Linked DNA regions of Homo sapiens: region 2 is linked to region 1. Evidence: promoter capture Hi-C in 16 types of primary human blood cells and fetal thymus (Javierre and others, 2016). All regions are on one chromosome and are shown on one strand. Each heading gives the region's core, a stretch centred on a gene start or on the middle of the fragment in contact. The rest is flanking DNA. Distances are from core to core; before and after follow the strand shown. Region 1 holds the start of TNFRSF18 (TNF receptor superfamily member 18). Region 2 holds the start of NOC2L (NOC2 like nucleolar associated transcriptional repressor).

Region 1 (5,039 bases), core at 1,890-4,389:
AGCCCAGCCCCGGGTGCCCCGTCCTCCCCCAGCACCCAGCATGCATCCACTCAGGTCACTGGACAAGTGTTTATTGAAGGTCCCCTGCAGCCGGGTCCCGTGCTGGGCACTGCACACCCACGGACACAGCCTCCCGTCCTAAGACCCCACCCCATCAGGGCCAGCAAGGGAGGAAGGGGGCCATGACTGTGTCTCTCTCTCCCTCCTGCAGGGCCCAGCCGCGGCCGCCGAACTGCATGGTCCAGGGCGCTGGTCACTGCCACCTTCCTGCACCCACTTCTGCTGCCAGGGGAGCAGGGCCCGGCCCAGAGCAGAACGCAGAGCCCCTGCGGCCTGGGGAGCTCCTGGGGAGGGGCTGGCTGCGGTCGGTGGCCCCGGAGGACGGCCAGGCTCACACCCACAGGTCTCCCAGCCGCCCCTTCTCCTCTGCCGATCGCTCGCCCCGCTCTTCCTCGGGGAACTGGCAGCTTCTGGCGTCTTCGGTCGACGGCGGCACCTCCAGCAGCAGCTGGGTCTCTGCAGGGGGGCCACGGTCAGCAGGCAGCCATGCTCCCACCTCCCCGCACCAGGCTGTGACAGACCTCGGGGCCACATGCACTGACTCCTCAGCTGCCAGATGTGCAGTCCAAGCTGGGCCGAGGTCAGGAGGAGGACGCAGGCGGCCACGGCCAGGAGGACGACGGTCAGCCACCCAAGCGGCTCTGCCGGCGGGGACCCTGGGACGCACACAGCGTTGTGGGTCTTGTTCCCAGGGAACACAGTGAGAAACCCGAACTGGGTGCAGCTGGAATACATGGACGCGGCCTCCTATCAGCCCCCGGACACGGCCTCCGATCAGCCCCCGGCTGCTGCCCTCCGTGCTGTCTGGGGCAAGGGACAGGAGAGGACCCTTCCTCAGAGTGGGCCTGGACCACCCGGCCACCGGCAGGGCCCACCCAGGACTCACTCTGTCCAAGGTTTGCAGTGGCCTTCGTGGCCCCCGGAGAAGGTCCCCGAGGCACAGTCGATACACTGGAAGCCAAAACTGAATTTCCCTGGTGTGGGGTGTGGGGGGAGGGAGGGAGGGAGGCTGGTGGAGTTGCTGGGATGGATGAGGAGGGCGTCAGGCCAGTGCAGGGGTCCATCTGGGGTCTGGGTGCTGAGTAGAATGCCCCCCCCATCATCCATTCAACAGAGTTCTTCATGGCCCAGGACTGGGGCCCATGTCTGCCCGTCCCAGGTGGGGCGTCTGGGGTGGGGCCCAGTGAGGGCACCTGGGGGAGGTGCGCAGAGTGCAGTGGGCCTGCCAGGGAGGGGAAAGGCCTGCCCATTGGGGGCTGAGGGTGGGCAGAAGCCAGGCAGGACCCAGTAGAACAGAGGGTGGAGAACAGTGAGGGTCCCAGAGAGAGTGAGGCTGGGTCCCAGTTGACCCCAGACCCTGCCCCGTCCAACCTGACACAACCTCCCCAGTTGTACCTTCTCCCAGCTCTCATGTGCCCAGCCTGACCTCTCCTGTCAGGTAAACAAGCCGCTAAGAGGACTTGAGCTGCTCCTTCCAGAACAGGGTGCAGCCCCAGGCCCCAGACAGGACTCCGGGGGGCACAGGGCAGGCTCTTTCAGTATGTGGTGAGGACAGACAGGATGGGTGTCCCGGGCCTGAGAGCCAGACAGCTCCTGGAACCCGCCCCCACCTCCCCGCAGGGTTCTCACAGCCCTCGTGCTGGATGGAGAAGCCCAGGCTGAGAAAGCAGGGACAGGACACCCCCAGAGCTTCATGGCCTGTGGTGCCTGAGCATGGCCTGGCCTGCCCGGCCTCACAGGACTCCGGACCCCACACACCACATGTCCTCGCCGGACACCTGTGCCCACGAGCTCTGCCTCGGGCCCTAGTGGAACCCCTGGCCTGTGTGGACTCCCAGAGGCACCTCCAGGACTTACCCTGGGACTGTACCCCCTGGCCTGGGGGACAAGGGTGGTGCCGGCAGGTCGTGCAGCAAGGGTCTCCGCAGTGGAATTCAGGCTGGACACACATGCAGTCCCACTCGGAACAGCACTCCTCGCCTGGGCAGGAGACAGGCCAGCCCCCCAGCAGCTGGGCTGAGGCCCCCTCCTCCCCAGGCCTCCCCTCGGCCCTCCAGGGGAGTGAGGTTGTCCGTTCTCCACCCACAGTTGGCTCCAGGGAGCAGAGGGCTCCTGGCTGGGAGTCTGGACCCTGGGTTTATCCAGCTGTCTCTTTCTCCTGGGGCCATGTGGCCTGGCTACTCCCCCTTTGCGCCCCACAGCTGCCCCTGCCCAGGTGCTAACTCCATATGCAACCAGGAGCTGCCCCTGCAGGACCCAGGGGTGGCCCCCAACAGTGCACAGTCCCCTGGAGGCCCGTCGACACCTCAGAGGCCGCCTGCCTGGTGTCTGGGCGCTGCTGTCCCCACCACCAGCCACACTGGGCCTCCGGACAGAGCCTCCCTTCCCAACCCACAGGCCCTGGAGGAAGAAGCTCTGGGGTGACTTCCCTGCCAGCTTCCTCTCCAGACCAGCCGTGTCAGCTGAACCCTCATCCCCAGGTGCAGGTCAGAGGCAGGCAGCAGGCCAGACGGTGGTGCAGGGGGGCCCTCAACTGGGCAGGAGGGGGCTGGGCGATGGCCAAGGGCTCACGACCCGCCCAGCAGGACCTGGAACAGCCGTCCTCCACCTCCAGACCCCAGACCCCTCTTGAGGGCGCTCCCACCTGGCTCACCCCTGCTCCCGGCCGGGGCCACTGGCTGGAGCTGGCACACCTCCGCCTCCCTCTGGGATCCTGCCTCCCTCCGGAAGGCTCCCGCTGCTGGCGGCTCTGTGCCCACCCTCCTTAGACCTCAGCAACGCCGGTCTGAGCACGGGAAGGGGGGCGCCCACCCATCCCGGCTTCCGCGGGACGCCTTGGCCGGTCCGCGTTAAGTAAACGCGGTTTACTTACCCGGGTAATCGCGGCAGCAGCGCGTCGTGTGAACCCGGCAGCAGCGCGCGTCCGTTCCCGTCCCAAGCAGGAGGCGCCCAGGGCCGCACCCGGGACCCCCGGTGGGGCGCTGACCCAGGCTGAGCGCGCACAGCAGCGCCAGGCCGCACAGGGCCCGAAACGCGCCCATCGCCCCGTGCTGTGCCATGCTCGGGTTTCAAGAGCCCACAGCCAGTTGGACACGCCCCGTCCCCGTCCTCACCCGCCCTGCCCGGAGGTGGCTGGGACCGTTCATGACCTGAGAATCCCGACCCAGGTGAAGTGCGTGTGAGGAGGGGGTGTAGACACTGCGGACACAGCCCGGTCCCCCGCAGGTCGCCGGCAGGGGCGGGGAAACCAGGCTGGCGGGGATCAGAAAGGTTTTCTATGCAAAGTCTGCGGCCACATTGGTGTCCCCAGTGCAGGGGGCGGCGTTTATAGCACCTTGTCCCATGGGGGCCCCTTGGAGGGCGGGGGTCAGCCAATCACTCCTCCATCCCACTGCCTCCGGGTGGTATCTGCGAGTCCCCGAGAGGTCTCCACAAATTCTGGCCACCCCCAGAGAGCCTCAACCATGGAGCCCCGTGCTGGGGAACCCCACAGAATGGGGACAGGGACCCCTCGGCTCAGCACACCCCACCTGGCTGGCTTCAGGTGTGAAACTCACCATGGGCTGCAGGCCTGTGGGCTCCCCTCCCCCTTGCTTGCAGCTCTCCAGGACCCCCCTCAGGCCAACCTGGGAAGTTCCCCGGGGCTTGGGAGGGGCACCAGGAGGAGCTGGTGGGGAGACGAGAGGGTGCTGGCGCCTCCTCGGGACAGTGTCAGCCGCCCCCGCGGGCACCCAGGGCCCGGTCTCTCAGAGCCACCTTCATCCGTCACACCAGACAGATCCAGGTCCCGGAGGGAGTTGAGGAGGAGCCCCTCGCAGAGCTCTTGGGAGACTGTCCTATGTCTTTCTGAGCCTCAGTTTCCCCTGTGGGCACCGAGGGGTTCTGGGACCCTGCCTCCACCAGGAAGCCTCCCTGGATTGCCCAGCCCTGCTTCTGCGCCGTCCAGCACAGGTGGAGACCCCCATGAATGCTGGGGGTGGGGGCTCTCGGGAACGTGAGCGTGGATGTGGTTCAACACCCTTTTGAGACCTGCAGCCACCGCCTCACCCCGTAAGGCGGTTCCTCCTTTTCCAAGGTAAATGACAGGAATTAGCTGTTTGTGACACCCCGGAGTTCTCAAATCCAAGATGTAGGAGCCTGCCTTGGAGAGGCAGCCCTCAGACACTGCAGAGAAGGAAGGGGTCTCTGCAGCTCCAGGCCGCCCCGACGCTCGGAAGGAAAGGGGTGGGGCCAGCTGGGCCTGGGGGCCTTTGAGAGGCCTGGAGATCTTCAGCCCCGAGGCTGGGAGGGGGTCTGGGCCCCTGGATAGAAAGAGGCGCCATCAGTGGCTCACGCCCGTAATCCCAGCATTTTGGGAGGCCGAGGTGGGCCTCGGATCACCTGAGGTCAGGGGTTCGAGACCAGCCTGACCCACATGGAGAAAGCCCGTCTCTACTAAAAATACAAAAAAAATTAGCCAGGCGTGGTGGCGCACGCCTGTAATCCCAGCTACTCGGGAGGCTGAGGCAGGAGAATTGCTTGAACCTGGGAGGCAGAGGTTGCGGCGAACCAAGATGGCACCATTGCACTCCAGCCTGGGTGACAGAGCGAGACTCCATCACAAAAAATAAAGAATGCTCATCAGACCACACGGTGTGAGTCATCCATCTAGAGGCAGGGACAGAGTTAGAGGAGCGAGCAGTTTATGGGGCCAAGTGGGAGGCGGCCAGCGGGCAGAGGAGCCCCTCCCCCCCGCCCCGTGGCGCAGCTGACACTTTGAACAGCCGGAGAGCAGCTTGCCACACAGGGTGGTCCCCGGAGGGGCTGCAGGGGTGTGACGTCCACCCTCCCATCCCTCTCGCCGCAGAAGGCCCCTCCCCGGCTCCCCGTGACTCCTATCCTTGGGCTGCGAGGCTGGAGGTGACTTGTTCATCTTATTGAGCAGCTCACCGGTGACACAAATGACGGGGCATTCACACAGCAGAGCAGCCCACGGGCCG
Region 2 (5,039 bases), core at 1,961-4,460, 250 kb before region 1:
ACAGAGAACGCAACAGACAGCCTGGATGCCAGGCTCCCCCCAAGCTCACCAGCACTGTCCGTGACCTGGAATTTGTTGGCCTCAGCACTTTCCTGGTCCCCTCGGGTGGTGGCCACAGCTGCTCGGAACGCCTGTACCACTTCATGGAACAGCTTTGGAGTGAGGCGTTGCTGAAGGAGCAAGAGTACCAGGGGCGTCAGGGGAGCTGAGACTGCACTTGGCAGAGTGGAAACGGCAGCCCCAGAGAAAGGCACCCTCACCCTCACCCTCAGACATAGGGCAGAGGTTGGGGGGAGGCACAGAGCCCCATACTGATAACAAAAATGGAAACAAAGTCTAGAATTCTCTGGGAAGAGGAGGGAGTCTGGCTCAGGAGCCCCAGGAAAAGGACTGGGAGTTCCAGATCCTGGACTATGGCCACCTCCAGGTGGTATCTGGAGCTCTCCGTATCCTTGTCCCTGGAAAAAAACACTGTGAGAGGCTCAGAAGGACCCCAGCTCCACCAACCAACAAAGGCACAGTCCGTCCCACCCACAGCGGGACTGACTTTGGGGAGTGGGGCGCCAACAGAGCCCCTGGAATCTACCCAAAAGTGAACACACAGTCCTGGGGCAACCAAGCAAGCAGGAGGAGCAACGTGTTGTCACTTGCGCTGAAGAAGGCTCCAAGCGTCCCCTGCGTGGAGAACAGCCCCTCCCACCAGCACAGCCTCAGGCGCCTCAGGTGAGGCAAGGCCAGATCTCTGCCTGGGCACCCAGCTGCCCGCCCCTCGCTGCTGCTCACCTCAGGTGAGGCAAGGCCAGATTTCTGCCTGGGCACCCAGCTGCCCGCCCCTGGCTGCTGCTCACCTTTGCTGCCTGCTTCCATCTCTCAACCATGGCGACGGTCACAGGAACAGAATTCTTCTTCCCCTTCAGCCCTCTGGGGACTCTGTCCCCATCTTCTCCTTCCTCCGCTCCATCCTCCTCCTCACTGGCTTCCTGCACAGAAAGGCTGAGCTGAAGGAGAGTGTAGAGACAAGTGCCCCCCTTCTGGTTTGGCCCACGCCCTCACCTCCAGCACATCTGGCAGGGAGTGGAACGGCCCCTCTTCCTCCTCAGAGCTGTCCGAGTCGCTGAAGTTTAGCAGGCTCTGGTCATTCTCCTGCAGGAACTTGTAGAACTCGGGGTCTCTGTCCTTCAGCCGAGAGAGCTGGTCTTTGTGCTCAGAGGCACGGCCTTTACGCCGGCTGAGGAGGCAGAAGTCAGCGACCCCAGTGGGAAGTGGAAGTAGAGGGGGCGGGGAGTGGCCTACAGGGTCAGTCTACTCCCTTCACAAGGGTTACCAACTAGCAAGACAGGATTGCCAGGAGGTACGTTTTTGGCAGACTCACGTCTCCTACCCAACAACCTCTACAACATACCCTCAAACACACTACACAGGCCCCCCAGCCGCGGTCTTCCCTGGACTTGCTGTGCCTGCGCCCTGCGCTACACAGGCCCCCAGCCGCGGTCTTCCCTGGACTTGCTGTGCCTGTGCCCTGCGCTACTTTTGCCTGATGGTGGCTTCACCCTTCCAGAGGCTCAGACTAAAGGCAAATCTCTGTCTCTAATACCCAGCACGCAACTTGTCATCAGATCTCATCAGCAACACCTTCAAAACCGTTCGTGCCTCCTCTCAAACCACCACATAGTTCAATTCTCAGTTAACCTAAAGGTCTCTCTGTTTCCACCCTTGTCACCTACAAGGCACTCCACCGCTCAAACCCAGAAGTAACTCCCTGTTTTACGAGGCAATCTTATGACGGTCTACGGCACCTGGCTCTTCATCACCCTTCTGGGCTCATCTACCCCTATTCACCCCCTCACTCCTGCCGTAGCCACGTTTACCTCTGTACTCTCCCCAAATGCTCCCACTGCAAGGCTTTTGCTGTTTTCTGCTGCCTGAAATCCTAAGACACGTTTCCCCTACTGTCTGTGTGGCCTCCTTGTTCGAGGTCTTTATTCAGACGTCATCTTCTCAAACAACCACCTCCGCTTTTTTTTTTTTTTTTTTTTCTCCTGAGGCGGAATCTCACTCTGTCGCCCAGGCTGGAGTGCAGTGGCGCAATCTCCACTCACCGCAACCTCCGCCTCCCGGGTTCAAGCGATTCTCCTGCCTCAGCCTCCCGAGTAGCTGGGACGACAGGTGTGTGTCACCACGCCAGGCTAATTTTTGTATCTTTTGATTTCTTTCTTTTTCTTTTTGAGATGGAGTCTCACTCTCTCACCCAGGCTGGAATGCAATGGTGCCATCTCGGCTCACTGCAACCTCCGCCTCCCAAGTTCAAGCGATTCTCCTGCCTCAGCCTCCCGAGTAGTTGGGATTACAGGTGCCCACCACGCCCGGCTAATTTTTATATTTTTAGTAGAGACATGATTTTTCCGTGTTGGTCAGGCTGGTCTCGAATTCCTGACCTCAGGTAATCTGCCCGCCTCGGCCTCCCAAAGTGCTGGCATTACAGGCGTGAGCCACCGAGCACAGCCTCCGCTCCTTCTAACAGAGCAACTCGGCTCCCCTGCAACTCTCTCTTCAGCCCCTCTGTCCTTCCTTTCCCTCCCCAGCACTTATCTCTCTTCTACCGAACTGCAGGCGGTGATTTCACCCAAGAACGTGAGAGTTCTCCTAGATCGGGAAGAGATTTTTGCACAACTCACCAACATACGCTCCCTGCCTAGGACAGAGTTTGGCACGGAACAGGAGCTCAGTAAACATCGGATGAAAGAGTAAGTTAAGCTGAAAGGACTGGGGGGCAGAGGTCGGCGATCCTTAGGCCTTGGCCCTGAGACCCCAGGCGAGGTCAGCAACCCAACCGGGGTGGGACAGGACGAGCAAGAGGTTCTGCTCACGCATGTCCCCACTAACCTGGCCGAGGGGCTCCCGCCCGGCTTATCCGGACTCCGGGCAGCCTCGCGTGCTTCCCGTGTCTCCGCTTGTGGAGAATTTTCGGACTCGGATTCGGACTCGGAGTCAAAGCCCGAAGCTAGGAACTCGTCCACCGTCAGCTCCGCCAGGCGCCTGCGGGTCACGCAGGAGTCACAGCTGCCCGCACGCCCAGCTCGCCCCAGCCCCGCTGAGAGGAGCAAGAAAAGCCCCCTTGGATACAGACACCCACCGGGAGGCCAAATCGGCCCTCGGACCCGCGGCTTACCTCTTGCGGCTCCCCGCAGCTGCCATGACACCAACCCGAAGCGTGCACCCCACTTCCGGCCCCAGAATGCCGCGCGGCTGCGCACTTCCGCCGCCCAGGCCCCGCCCCTTTCCCCGCCCCGCCGCGCCACGCCCAGCCGAGTGGCTCTATGGTTCTCCGACCGCAACGCCGGCGGCCTCAGGGCGGGAGGGCGCGTTCGCGTGCTCGGTGCGGGCAGCCCCGGTGGGGCCCAGATGCGCCTCCCGCTCGGCGCCCGGCTCCGTAGGACGCGGTGACGCCGGTGTCCGCCCCGGGGAAGACCGGGAGTCCCGCCGCGCCCGCAGCCCACCCGGCGCTCCGAAGGCACGCGCCTGCGAGGACGCCAGACTGCAACGGCGGGGCTCCTATGCAAAGAGCTCCCACAAATCAACAATAAAAAGCAGGGAGTCCAGTGGAAAACGCGAGGGGCAGTGGGAACCGCACTGATGTCGCCAGCTCGACAAAAGACGGGCGACCCGAGGGCCAGGCTGGCTTCGCCTCCGATCCGCGGAGACCGGGCCAGCGCCACGAACACCACGCAGGGCGCTCCCCGTCCATGGCCCTCTGGGTGCCGACCGCGGCTCTTCCCGGGGACGCCGCACGGGACGAAGACGGTGGGGAGGCCGGCGCCTTCCTTCCCGCTACCAGCCTGACACCCGGGCCCCCGGGCCTGGACAGCCAGACCCCGCGACAAGGGCGCCGCGGGGCGCAGGCACGGCTCCCCCAGCCCTGGCGCTGAGGGGGCGCGTGAGGCGAACACGGGCGGATTGGCCTCGGGGTCCCATTCGACTTCTTGGTGCCGCGGGGCCCCGGGGCTCCCCGGAGGAGAGCAAGTTAGGGGGTCGGGGGAGCGGGGATGGCTTCCGGGGGAGGAGGAGGGCGAGGCCTGGGGGGCTCCTCGGAGGAGGAAGAGGGCGAGGCTTAGGGGGGCTCCTTGGAGGAGGAGGAGGGCGAGGCTTAGGAGGGCTCTTCGGAGAAACAGGAGGGCGAGGCCTGTGGGGGGCTTCCCGGGGAAGAAGGAAGGCGAGACCTAGGGGGGCTTCCCGGAGGAGGAGGAGGAGGAGGGCTAGGCCGGGGGCTTCCCAGAGGAGGAGGATGGCGGGGCCTGGGGGGCTTCTCGGAGAAGGAAGATGGCGAGGCCTAGGGGGGCTTCTCGGAGGAGGAGGAGGGCGAGGCCTGGTGGGGGGCTTCCCGGAGGAGGAGGATGGCGGGGTCTGGGGGTGCTTCTCGGAGGAGGAGGCGGACCCGGGGCGCAGCGCTGGAAGAATCCGCGTCCAACGTCTAGTCCCCGAAGCCTCTCGGGAGGCGGGGCGGGCGGCGCCGAGAAACAGCGGCTGCGGGCGGGAGCGGCGGGAGTGAGCGACACAGAGCGGGCCGCCACCGCCGAGCAGCCCTCCGGCAGTCTCCGCGTCCGTTAAGCCCGCGGGTCCTCCGCGAATCGGCGGTGGGTCCGGCAGCCGAATGCAGCCCCGCAGCGAGCGCCCGGCCGGCAGGACGCAGAGCCCGGAGCACGGCAGCCCGGGGCCCGGGCCCGAGGCGCCGCCGCCTCCACCGCCGCAGCCGCCGGCGTGAGTGGGCGGGGGTCGGGGCGCGGGGGGCGGCCTCGGGACCTGCGCGGCCCCCGCCCTCGCGTCCGCTCGCAGAAGGGGCGGGGGCCGCTTCCGAGGGCCGGGGGAGGTCGGGACTCAGGTGCGGAGCGGGGTCGGCCCGGAGTAGGTTCCCCACCCGCGCCCCGCGCGCCCAGGACGCGACTCCCGCTGCGGTCCCGAGAGGGCGGCTAGGGACGCGGAGGAGCTGAGCTCGTGGGGGCGCCGGGAAGCGGGGCCGGACGCGGGGCTCTGTTCGCGGCTCT

What was found. Contacts are between HindIII fragments. The CHiCAGO score rates a contact against its expected background, and 5 or more counts as called.
Region 2: the fragment with the promoter of NOC2L here is called in contact with the fragment with the promoter of TNFRSF18 in region 1 in 2 of 17 cell types (erythroblasts and M0 macrophages); the score reaches 6.7 in erythroblasts.

What each region holds. Positions count from the first base shown.
Region 1 is chr1:1,203,453-1,208,491 of GRCh38, forward strand. TNFRSF18 (TNF receptor superfamily member 18) reads right to left here and starts at 3,140. Exons shown (of 5, transcript NM_004195.3): 1 at 2,933-3,140; 2 at 1,918-2,040; 3 at 947-1,034; 4 at 582-784; 5 at 56-516. The coding sequence starts at 3,119. The coding sequence ends at 392. RefSeq lists silencers at 1,723-1,923, 4,796-4,885 and an enhancer at 4,720-5,039. The HindIII fragment of the contact is 24,444 bases long and covers 1-5,039 here.
Region 2 is chr1:956,046-961,084 of GRCh38, forward strand. It overlaps NOC2L (NOC2 like nucleolar associated transcriptional repressor), which reads right to left and starts at 3,211. Exons shown (of 19, transcript NM_015658.4): 1 at 3,170-3,211; 2 at 2,884-3,036; 3 at 1,054-1,228; 4 at 849-980; 5 at 50-170. The coding sequence starts at 3,195. It overlaps KLHL17 (kelch like family member 17), which reads left to right and starts at 4,539. Exons shown (of 12, transcript NM_198317.3): 1 at 4,539-4,755. The coding sequence starts at 4,649. RefSeq lists enhancers at 2,479-3,336, 2,995-3,104 and silencers at 3,215-3,474, 4,433-4,742, 4,763-5,039. The HindIII fragment of the contact is 14,217 bases long and covers 1-5,039 here.